Linked DNA regions of Homo sapiens: all the other regions are linked to region 2. Evidence: promoter capture Hi-C in human tissues and cell types (Jung and others, 2019). All regions are on one chromosome and are shown on one strand. The core of a region is centred on a gene start or on the middle of the fragment in contact, and the rest is flanking DNA. Distances in the headings are between cores, read along the strand shown. Region 1 has its middle 80 kb from the start of LNX2. Region 2 holds the start of CDX2 (caudal type homeobox 2). Region 3 has its middle 16 kb from the start of MTIF3.

Evidence for each region. Contacts are between HindIII fragments. The study calls those that stand out against the background at their distance.
Region 1: a fragment that was not itself captured here is called in contact with the fragment with the promoter of CDX2 in region 2 in 1 of the 25 tissues and cell types used here (spleen).
Region 3: a fragment that was not itself captured here is called in contact with the fragment with the promoter of CDX2 in region 2 in 2 of the 25 tissues and cell types used here (IMR-90 fibroblasts and heart right ventricle).

Annotation. Positions count from the first base shown.
Region 1 is chr13:27,539,262-27,542,666 of GRCh38, forward strand. No RefSeq gene overlaps it. Among named protein-coding and RNA genes, the nearest start is that of LNX2, 80 kb to the right of the region's middle. The HindIII fragment of the contact is 4,687 bases long and covers 1-3,405 here.
Region 2 is chr13:27,967,728-27,971,481 of GRCh38, forward strand. It overlaps CDX2 (caudal type homeobox 2), which reads right to left and starts at 1,588. Exons shown (of 3, transcript NM_001265.6): 1 at 739-1,588. The coding sequence starts at 1,279. RefSeq lists enhancers at 823-1,514, 3,591-3,754. The HindIII fragment of the contact is 6,465 bases long and covers 1-3,754 here.
Region 3 is chr13:27,464,670-27,468,212 of GRCh38, forward strand. No RefSeq gene overlaps it. Among named protein-coding and RNA genes, the nearest start is that of MTIF3, 16 kb to the left of the region's middle. The HindIII fragment of the contact is 4,528 bases long and covers 1-3,543 here.

The sequences.
Region 1 (3,405 bases), core at 14-2,513, 430 kb before region 2:
GTAAAGTAAAGAAAAACTTCATTTTTTTGAGACAGGGTCTCACTTTGTTGCCCAGGCGGGAGTGCTGTGGCTCAGTCACTGCTCATTGCAGCCTCCACCTCTTGGGATCAATGATCCTCCCGCCTCAGCCTCCCGAGTAGCTGGGACTACAGGTGCACACCATCACGCCTGGCAAATTTTTTATTTTTTGCAGAGATGGGGTCTCCCTCTGTTGCCTCGGCTGGTCTTGGACTCTTGAGCACAAGTGATCCCCCCACTTCAGCCTCCCAAAGTGCTAAGATTACAGTTGGAGTCACCTCGTCCCATCTCAAAAAAAACCTTATTTTTAATAGCTGCCGCCACCCTTACAACCTTGACATTGGACAAGTCGTTGTTGCTTCTCATCTTTTAGAGTCTGGGGAATAGATGTCTCTAACTTAACCGTTCTTGGTCAGCTTTCAGGCAATCTAAAGAAGGGAGTTCTTGTTGAATTCACCCTTAAACTGAAAACTTTTGAAGAAATAAAGCAAATGCTGATCCAAGTTTTTGAAATAGCCCATCTTGAAAGTGTTATTTGCAGGTGAGTGAGTGAATAGAGCTCAAATGGAAATCTCTAAGTGCTTCTCACTCAGCCATGGAGCGAAGCCACCTTCTCCTGATGGGAGGCATGCTCTCTGCCACCTGCGGGGATGGTGTGAGTCCTCCAAGTGCTAGTCTTTTTTTTTTTTTTTTTTGAGGCGGAGTCTCACTGTCACCCAGGCTGGAGTGCAGTGGTGCGATCTCGGCTCACTGCAAGCTCTGCCTCCCAAGTTCATGCCATTCTCCTACCTCAGCCTCCCGAGTAGCTGGGACTACAGGCGCCCGCCACCATGCCCGGCTAATTTTTTGTATTTTTCTTTTTCAGTAGAGACGGGGTTTCACTGTGTTAGCCAGGATGGTCTCCATTTCCTGACCTTGTGATCTGCCCACCTCAGCTTCCCGAAGTGCTGGGATTACAGGCATGAGCCACCGCGCCCGGCCTAGTCTTTTATTCTTGTAGGTGATTAAAGTTTTAGCATTTCTCACTTAGGCACTTTATAGCTATTAGGCACTGTGCTTACATGTACAACTTCACTTCTAAAGAGCTTCTGTGTTGCCATAGAAATTAATTAGTAGTATATTTACACCATAAAATGGCAAAAGAGCTTTCTAACAAGGACCTTAGGGAGCTGAAATCTTTCCCTCAGCAAGAAGACAAGACAGACTTAAGAGAAAAACCTCAACTCATGAATTCCTAGCCTGTTACCAGGGCAGCAGTTTACCATGTTGGTGTGTCATCTATATGGTTTTGTTGATCACCCAAGGTGGACAAATGAAAGAAAATCTGCATTGTAAAAGATGAAATTAGGTGCTGTGAGGAAGTGACCCAGAGCCTCTCACTATGTGTTGTGCACAGCAGGTGCTGGATAAACTGTTTAAACAATTCCATGGAAAAGCAACACAGCCATCACTCGAATGAGCCTGGGTATTTTATAGTGCTTAAGGAAACTTGGAAACAGTATATTTTAGCATGCACTCGAAACATCTCACTTTCCATTTTTCAATGTTGATTAAAGATACTTATTGCTTATATAAAGTGCCAAGTTAACCTCACCTCTCTTTAAGCTTTCAAATTCCAAATTAGTTAAGTCTGAATTAACAGGGCATTAATGTACTGTAACATGGGTGTCAGGCATGATGAAATGGGTGAAGTGCCCACAGAAGCTGAAATTCAGGTTAACTTCAGATTTAATTTTAACCATCCATGTATCTGATTACAGCTTCAAACATGTGAGGAATCATAAAGCAGCAGCCCACTTTCATTTATAAAAGAATGGGTATCAAGTTCTGAAGGTACAGCAACAGAATGAACAGACCTCAGGGTCTTCTAGTGAGAAAAGAGCCACAGCTAGGACAGAGAGGGAGGATTCAGCTGTTTGAGAACTGGTCACTGTGCACAGTATCTTGAGAAAACGAAACCCTCTAAATCTGCCTTCCAAAATTTCCTATGAAAACATGTCTCTGGATTTACAATGCAAGTTGCATTTGCTCTAGAAAAGTTGGTGATAGTGACCTTTGCTGAACTGCCCTTCCCCCAACCCCTCCCATAAAAAGGCAAATTGCTTCAGTGATTTCCAGACTGCTTGGAAACGGGTAATATAATGGTGAAAATGTTGTTGCGTCCCAAGCTTTTATAAAGTCTTTCCTTATATCTGGATTGCAACTTCAACTTTCAGATAGTATGGGTCAGTGTGCTGCCATTAATCCCACTCTGGCCTTCTGTTGCCCACATGTCCTTTGTGGGATGTTACTGGAATGTTAGGAACTATCATAAACTGTGCTTGCATCAGCCTTTCAGTATTTTACATAGCTCAGAAATGAAATCTAACCAAACCCCAACAGTATATAACAATTACAATAACACTAACTGGACAGGAGAATGAGGAGGAGCCACAACACTTGCCACTAAGTCAGACCTCAGGGTGGTTGGAGTCACGTGGTCTCAGGTCCTTGTATTGTGCAGAGGGGACAGAGCTATTGTTCACGTTGAAACTTTATGTTAAATATGCACGAAGAAAAATTCAAGGGTAACTGCAAAGTGAACAGAAACAGAGCTACAATTCGGTAGAAGAAAACATGAAGCACAGAGAGGCAGAGGAAATTAATATAGGGTGGAAAGAAAACATATAATAATCATCACAACATACATGGACAACCCTTGGCAAAATAACAAATTCCAAAAGTAACAGAAAAGAATCTGCTTATATGCTATTCATACACTTGTTCACATTATAATGATGAACTTTGGTTTATCACATCATTACAGCTGAAATGAGGTCACAAATTGGGAGAAGATATTTATACCTCACATCATCCACGAAGTATTAACATCCAGAATAAAGAATGTCTACACATGAAAAAGAGAAACACAAATAGCCCTTTAGAAAATTGTCCAACAGGTTAGTCACCAAAGAAGGGACCTGAAAGACAAGTAAATATGTGAGAAGTTCCTCGACTTCACCAGTAAATGGGGAGATGGGAATTGAAGTCACAGTGGGATGCCCTTTTCACCCTCTTCGGTTTGAGAACACCAAATGTTGGCAAGAATGTGGATCAACAAAACTTACCCAATTACTAGTGGAAATGTAACATTAGTGCAACCTCTTGGGAAATTAATTACCTCGTAAAGATGCACCTACTCTAAATGCAGGAATGCAACTCCTAGAGCAGTGGTTTTCAACTATGGCTGCATGTAACCCCCCTGAGGAACACACAAAACCAAACAAAATTGATGTCCAAGCCCTAGCCCAGACCAACTAAAACAGCAAAGCTCCCCAAAAGATTCTTGTGTGCAGCCAGGATTAAATGAGAATCACTGCCCTGCAGAAACTCTCCACATGCACATGA
Region 2 (3,754 bases), core at 338-2,837:
CTCCCCGTCTCCCTGCTCTCTCCGCAGACGCCTGCCCCTAGGCTTCTTGCCCCTAGCCTTCCAGCTTTTGCTTGAAATGACCCCTTCACAGGTCAGAGGTTCAGAGACGGGGCGCGCCCCCGTCGCCTTAGCAGCTGGGGCTAGCACCTTCTTCCCAGCGACAGCAGCTCTCCCTGGTCTGCCTGCTCGCTGTACCTTGAATTGGCCCGAGTGGCCAAACCCGGTCCCACACACAGCCTAGCCATCCTCCGACCCCCCCAGGTCACTTCTCTTCTTAGATGGCTCAGATGGGGAAAGAGAGAGCGGAGATAAATGGCCTAGACCTAGCCCAAGAAGGTTCGAGCCTCCCTCTCTCCTCGGCGGCCAGGAGCCACGCAAGGAATGCATGCCGCAGCAAGTGCCGGAGGACGCGATTCTGCCGGCGTCCAGCAGTGCTCACGCCGACATTCCCCGGAGCTTCCCGAAGGTGTCCCGGGGTTGCGAATGAGGAGCTCTTGGAAAGAGGACGCCTGAACACGGTGTTGAGACTCAGAATATTCACTCCCAGGCTCAGTAGGTCAGAGAAGCCCCGACGGGCCAGAGGCCCCCGAATTTGTCTCCGGGCCGTGCCCCTCCTGGCGCCGAGCTCCCAGACAGCCCGGGACGCCCCTGTGCGCACTGGACGCGCGACGCGCAGCAGCCACTGGCTCGACCCGCGCCTTCCCAAGCACCCTCCGAAGGGGCGCAGCCTCTGCTTACCTTGGCTGCCGAGGGACTGCTGCGCCGGCTTCCGCATCCACTCGCACAGGTTCCGCCGCTGGCCGCCGGGAGACAGCTGCTCGGCGGCAGCGGTGGCGGCGGGCCCAGGAGGGCCGGGGTTGAGCGTTTGCAGCAGCCCAGAAGCGCAGGAAGGCGCGGCGGCCGGGTGGTGCGGGTGGTGATGCGGGTGGTGGTGCGGATGGTAGTCTGCGGGGCTGCTGTAGCCCATGGCTGCGGCCGGGGAGCCACCGTTGAGGCCGTGAGCCACGGCGTTGGCGGCGGCCGCGGCGCCTCCGGGCGCGTAGCCATTCCAGTCCTCCCGGAGTGGGGCGCCATACGCTGCCGGCCAGGATGGCCCCGGGGACTGCGCGCTGTCCAAGTTCGCTGCCGCTGCAGCTGCGGCCGCCACGTGGTAACCGCCGTAGTCCGGGTACTGCGGGGGGCTGACGAAGTTCTGCGGCGCCAGGTTGAGGCCGCCAGAGTGGCGCACGGAGCTAGGGTACATGCTCACGTCCTTGTCCAGGAGGTAGCTCACGTACATGGTGGCGAGGGTCCGGGAGCAGACCTCACCATGCTGCCTGGGGACCGACGCTGGAGGCTGCCGGGGGGCACGAAGGGAAAGGGGCGAGGGGACTCGAGGAGCGGCGGGTGGCTGCGCCCCAGCCCGCGGTGCTCCGCTGGCTCCTCGCGGCTCTTCTGCCTCCGAGGCGGTCCCTCCCTCTGGCCTGCCTCCTCCCTCCCTCCCTTTCTTCCTTCTTTCCTCCCACCTCCTTCCCACTAGGCTGCAGAGGCGGGGAAGACCCGCCACAGGCTGGCGTGCGGAGCCCCAGGCCGGCGGCCTTCCGTGATTAACGAGTGTTTACAAGACTCTATTAGTAATGACACAGACACCAATGGTTGGAGACGTCGAGGCGCAGCGCGCACTCTACGCACAACCCCTCGAAACATAATTTGCATTTTAAAAGATAAAGGGGAGGGAGGCTCGTGAGAGGGCAGCGACCTGACACAGCTAAATATTCAAACCTTTATTGTTAAGAGCTTCCTCCTTCCAACCTGGTGCACTTTAACCTCCAATCACAGGTTCAAAGAATGAAATCAAGAGACTTACAAAAGAGAGGGGAAGAGAAAAGGCTATCTTGGTAGGAATCTGAGCTTGGAGACAGGAGCAGTGGTTGTTTATGCATTTGCAGGGAAGAGGGCGGTCAAGAAACTCCTTCTGTCCCAAAGAGAAAAGAAAAGAGAACCATTGCTTTGATGAGAACGTTTCTGACCAACCTGGTAGGTGACAAGCAGAGAGCCCTAAGAGATGGGCCATTCCTTCCCGCCCTGTGCTCCTGGCCCGGACGACTGCAGCCCCAAACAACTGTCACCTCCAGTTATTTTCTTGCCCAAGGAAATTACTCGCCCTCCGCACAAGACAAATTATGATCCTAGATTCAGGCTGCATCTCTGACTTCATCTTACATTTGAAATTTGAGTTAAATTCAAGCGATTTATTGTTAAACGTTTACATTCAAGAATCAGAAGTTTTAAACTACAGAAGTAATGGGCATGTGGTAGAAGTTAGGCTAGTGGTTATTGGCGTGCATAACTGGAGGCGAGCTAGGGGATCGTTGGTAAAGCAGTTTCTTAGGCTGCTGGTTACACAGAATGTCAGTTTGTGAAAATTCATTGAGCTACACTTGTATGTTTATTATACTTAAATATAAGGAAAAGAGAATTTCTGCTAATGCTTACCTAGGTATTTATGTGTCTTACATCATACCTGTATCTTTAAAACTCTCTGTCCTTTACAAAGGGAAACGTTCTCCGAAGAAATTTATTTCTCATTTCCAGGAGATGATAAGGCAACTCAGGGCCATTATTAACGACTGCTAATGAAAAGCTCTGAGTTGAGAAAGGATCTCTCTTGGTTTGGGAAGCGCTGCGGCCAAGGGGCCTAGGGCTGGAAGTGGCCGTCTTGGGGACCGAAGCCGCGCAGCCCGGGATCGGGAGCTGCCCCGACAGGAGCGCGGAGGCGGCGAGATTCGGCCCCCGCGCGCGCCCAGCTCGGTTTCAGCAACCGCGTGGAGTGGGCCTGCGGCCGCCGTTCACCTCCTAATACAAGCCTTTGACAGCGCTGCCAGATTCGGGAATGAGGATCACTGCGGCGAGGCCCGGCGGGCTGGGCAGCCTGACTCGGCGGCTTTGAGCGCTCTCAGAACCCGCGGGCGCTCGCGGCACTCCTGGAGACCTGCACTTGTCTGTTCTCATTGTCAAGCGTTTCGCTCGGATATTTGTCACCATCGCCTTCATCCTGTCATTTCTAGGGTGCTCTCCAGTGTCCTTTATCTCCCTTGAGCCTCACATCCCCCTAGGATCTAGAACAAAATCTGGGAGGTGTTTTTATCCTCCCCATTTTACAGGTGACAACCAGCAACTTGCCTCTGCAGACACCTGAAAGCGATCAGAACTAGCCTAGGGCTGCGGGATCCCCTGTTTTCTGGTTCCTCCCACCCTTCGTGTTTGTAAGGAAGAAGGCTGGAAATGGGGGTGGTGGGGTACTCAGGGGCCAAGGAGCTGTGCACTCAAGAGGTGGGAGACCGAGCTGGTCCTCCTGGGGGACTTCCAGCGCCTGGCCTGGACAGCCGAGTGTCATCGGACTTCCTGAGAAATACAACCGGAAGCAAATTGCAAACCCCGTTACAAAATCCGAATCATTGAGAGAAGGGCAGTAGGGGAGGTCCGCAGACCTGATGGGGTGGGAATGTGGGAGGTTAAGTGGTGGGCACTTCGAACTTTTGATCTAGCAAACATCTTCCTCCTCTTCCTGGAGACACAATTCCCCTTTCCATCCCCCATACCATCCCCGCTCCCAGGCCTGAGCTCTGGAAGCCGAGGCTGAGGCTCCAGCCTATGTCTTCGGAATGCGGGCATTCTTTGGAACAATCGCTTTATTAGGGACAGCCATTCCCTCCGCCCTGCGGTGGCCGCTTCCTGCTTTTTTATGGCCCAGGCTGCCGGCCGCTGGCTAATT
Region 3 (3,543 bases), core at 428-2,927, 500 kb before region 2:
ATAGGTGGCAGAGCTGGGATCAGGATTTAGGGAATCTGTCTCCAGAGTCTATGCTCTTAGCTACTGCTCTATAAACGGTAGCTAAAATAATAGTGTCCTAGTTATCTGTGTAATAATAATAATATATTCTTATTCAACTGAATATATACCTAGGTATTTCTTAGTGAGTATAATCCCAGAACTTCCTTGACATCTCAAAAATACTGTTAGAAAGGTGATCATGGAAATCACCTACCATGAAGGAATATTTATACCAGTATTTCTTTCATTCTCAAAATTGTGTCTAGTGTGGAGGAAAGAACTCCATAGTGGGAGTCAGAGGACCTGGATTTATTTCCCAACTCCATATTTTTACCTGCCGTGGGTCCTTGAGCAAGTAATTTTGAGGGTCTGGTCCCTTGCTTTTTCATCCGTAAAATAAGATAATAATGTCACAGAATTGCAACCGTCAAAAAGATAAACTCTTTTGAAAACTATAAAGGAATACACAAATGTAAGAGAGTATTAATCTCTTGATCTCAGGTCTCTCTAAAATACTTAATCTGAGGATTTTTGACTTCTATGTGAAAACTGAAGAGTCCAGGCCGCAAAGGGTTTCCACCCAGCCTTCCCGAAGAGATATATAATAATGAATCTCACAACGCCTATCACTGTAGTTTGTTGTATAAAATTATATTTAAGCAGACTATGTAATAAATGGTATAAAATTCTCAATCTATAGAGCAGATTCAATCATGTTCAACCAAAGCTTTCATTATTAGGATAATGCCCAGCCCACAGCACTTTGGGAGGCTGAGATAGGAGGATTGTTTGAGCACAGGCGGTCGAGGCTGCAGTGGGCTATGATGGTGCCATTGCACTTCAGCCTGGGTGACAGAGCAAGACCCTGTCTCAAAAAAATAAAAAGGGAAAAGAGCTCTGTGACTTTCATTGTTAGGATAATGAAAGCTTTGGTTGAACATGATTGAGTTAGGGTGACTGCTAAAGGTCTCTGCTGAGTATTGGTGATAATCCACAACTGAAACTGATGGTCCGACTCTGATCACTGCTGTCCAGAGTCTGAGGCACATGAGGAGGAAAATGAGGTAAACAACATTCCTCTTAGAATGTTGCTTCAAGAAAGCTCAAGTTTTGGCAGTATGCCCTAGATGACACCTGCTTGCACTGCCAAGTGGCTGCCATTTCTTCTGCTCTTCCCTAGGAAAACAGACAAGCTCAAACAACAGGATGTGCGTATGGTATTCTTAGAGGGGTGGACGCTGAGCAGCTCTCCCGGGCCTGAGGGTCCTCCCGGCCTGCCTCCAGTTGGCATGTTTCTTGAACAGGAGCTCCCTGACAACCTGGGAAAGAGCTTGGGCTTTGCTATCTGGGAAAACTGGGCTTGGGACATTCATTAGCTGTTACTTGGGCAGGTTATCAAATGTTTCTCACTTGTCTATAAAATGAAGATAGTGATTTTAACATATAGCTGGGATGTCTCCTAAATGTTAGATACCACATTAGTATTATTATTATTGCTTTATGATAAAATATTACATGAAGTGCTGTCGGGGGCAGGTTCAGGGTTTCTATAAACTGGTGATGTTGGAACTGCTACAAAAGAACCATGCACCTTGAGTCTGACCTGTAAGAAAGCCTTCAGCAGGACCACAGTGGAGGCCAGGATGGATGAGGCTGAGAGGAAGGTGAAGTTTACGTTTGATGGCCCCTGAAATTGCCTCCCTACAAAGGGCTGTCTTTCCTCTCCCACGTTTTAATGTTGTCTTCCCACCCATAACTCGCCCTTATCTTCTCTTCTGTCTGCATTCTACACCCAGGAAAAATTTCAGGTCCGCACCCGGGGAGATGGTTTTTGACAGGTTGATCATTTGGAACTCTTCCAGTTACATTCTGAAGACATTGCCAACTTCCTAAATGTAGGCCTGATGCCATCCATGGTCCTCTGCTGAGGGTCACATTCCTTCCAGAAGGTCTCAGCTGACAGCCACGGTGTGGCAGTGCTGCCAGAGATCTTATCTGGTGATGTCTGAGCTTTCTGGCACTGTTCTTTTGTGTGGAGGTGGGAAGTGGGGAGGAAGCTGATGAGAAGGAGGGTGGAGACAGGCCGGGTGGTTAGAATTGTGCTCCCAGAGCACAGAGGCTCATTTGAAATATTGATTCCTCTGTGGAGGTCACAGCCCAGCCTTTGCTGTGCTTTCAGAGGGGCTATTTATATATTTTAGTCTTTGTTTCGGAGTTGCCTCTTATATTGGTGACACTCCAGCTTTGCTGAAGTCGTGTTTAAAAAAGAAAGTAGTAATTATTGATTGCACACTCAAATGTGGGGACCAGAATGAACGCAGACAAAGACTTGCAGAGAAGCATTCTACTCCCACTGCTTCAAGGGGAATCTGGAATCCTAAAGCAAGGTTCTTAAAATAAATAAAGGCTTCCATGCCCCTGAAATGCAATAAGGCTATCTTGGGTTTTCAGGTCCATCTTCTGACTTTTGCACTGTGATGTTTTCATCTCTCCTCCTTCACGTGGAACGAAGCCAGGGTGGGGGTGAGGTGGGAGGGGAGCAGAGGTAAACTGAAAGGTTTGATCTTAAAGGTAATCTTTCCTTCTCGCACTCCTGAATTCTCTGCCTCCCTCCCATTCCTACCTTGGCAGTTTATTTACCAGAAGGCTGGAAGCAGTGTCAGAGCCTGGAGATGTCATGCCAGAGACTCAGGACATGCCCAAGTGCTTTCATCCTGCAGCTGAATAAGCAGCCCCAGGTGAGCCCAGCCTAAGAATCAGCAGAAGAATCAACCTTCCGAGCTGAGCACTGATCAATCCTTGTAAACATAAGAATTAATGGAATGGTGGTCGCTTTTTAAAAATTATTTTAAAAATAGAGATGAGGTCTCACTATGTTACAAAGGCTAGCCTCAAGCCATCCTCCTGCCTTGGCCTCCCAAAGTACTGGGATGACAGGTGCGAGCCACCTTGGCCAGCCAGTGGTTGCTTTAAGCTATAAAGTTAGATTGTTATGTAATAATAGATAACCAAAACATAACCCACTAGACTACTGTTAAGAAGATGAAACTATTACTCTTTTGGAAAGCAAAAAGGTAGTACTTACCAAAATCTAAAAAGATATTTATATCCTTGGAAGCAGAAATTGTACTACTCTAACATTATCCTAAAAATTATTCAACAAGCAAAAAACCATAGTATGAAAAGTGTTCAGTGTAGTACTATTTTAAAAAAAATTTACAAATAATCTAATGGAGTGAAAATTAATTACAGGTTTACTAAATTATGATACATCAACACATGGGAATGTTGATGTACTTTTTAAAATAAATCCCTCCTGCGCAACTAAATTGAAACCAGTGATTTAAAAAAACATATTTTAAATATTTATTTTTACTTCGAGAATACACAGTTACATTTACTTTCCTGTCTTTCAATTTAGAGCCCAAGCTTTTCTTCCAGTGTAAGTCTGCTGCCTTGACTTCCACATTATCTTGTGCATAATCACATCTGTACACTACCATGGTGTAAGAAATTGAAGAC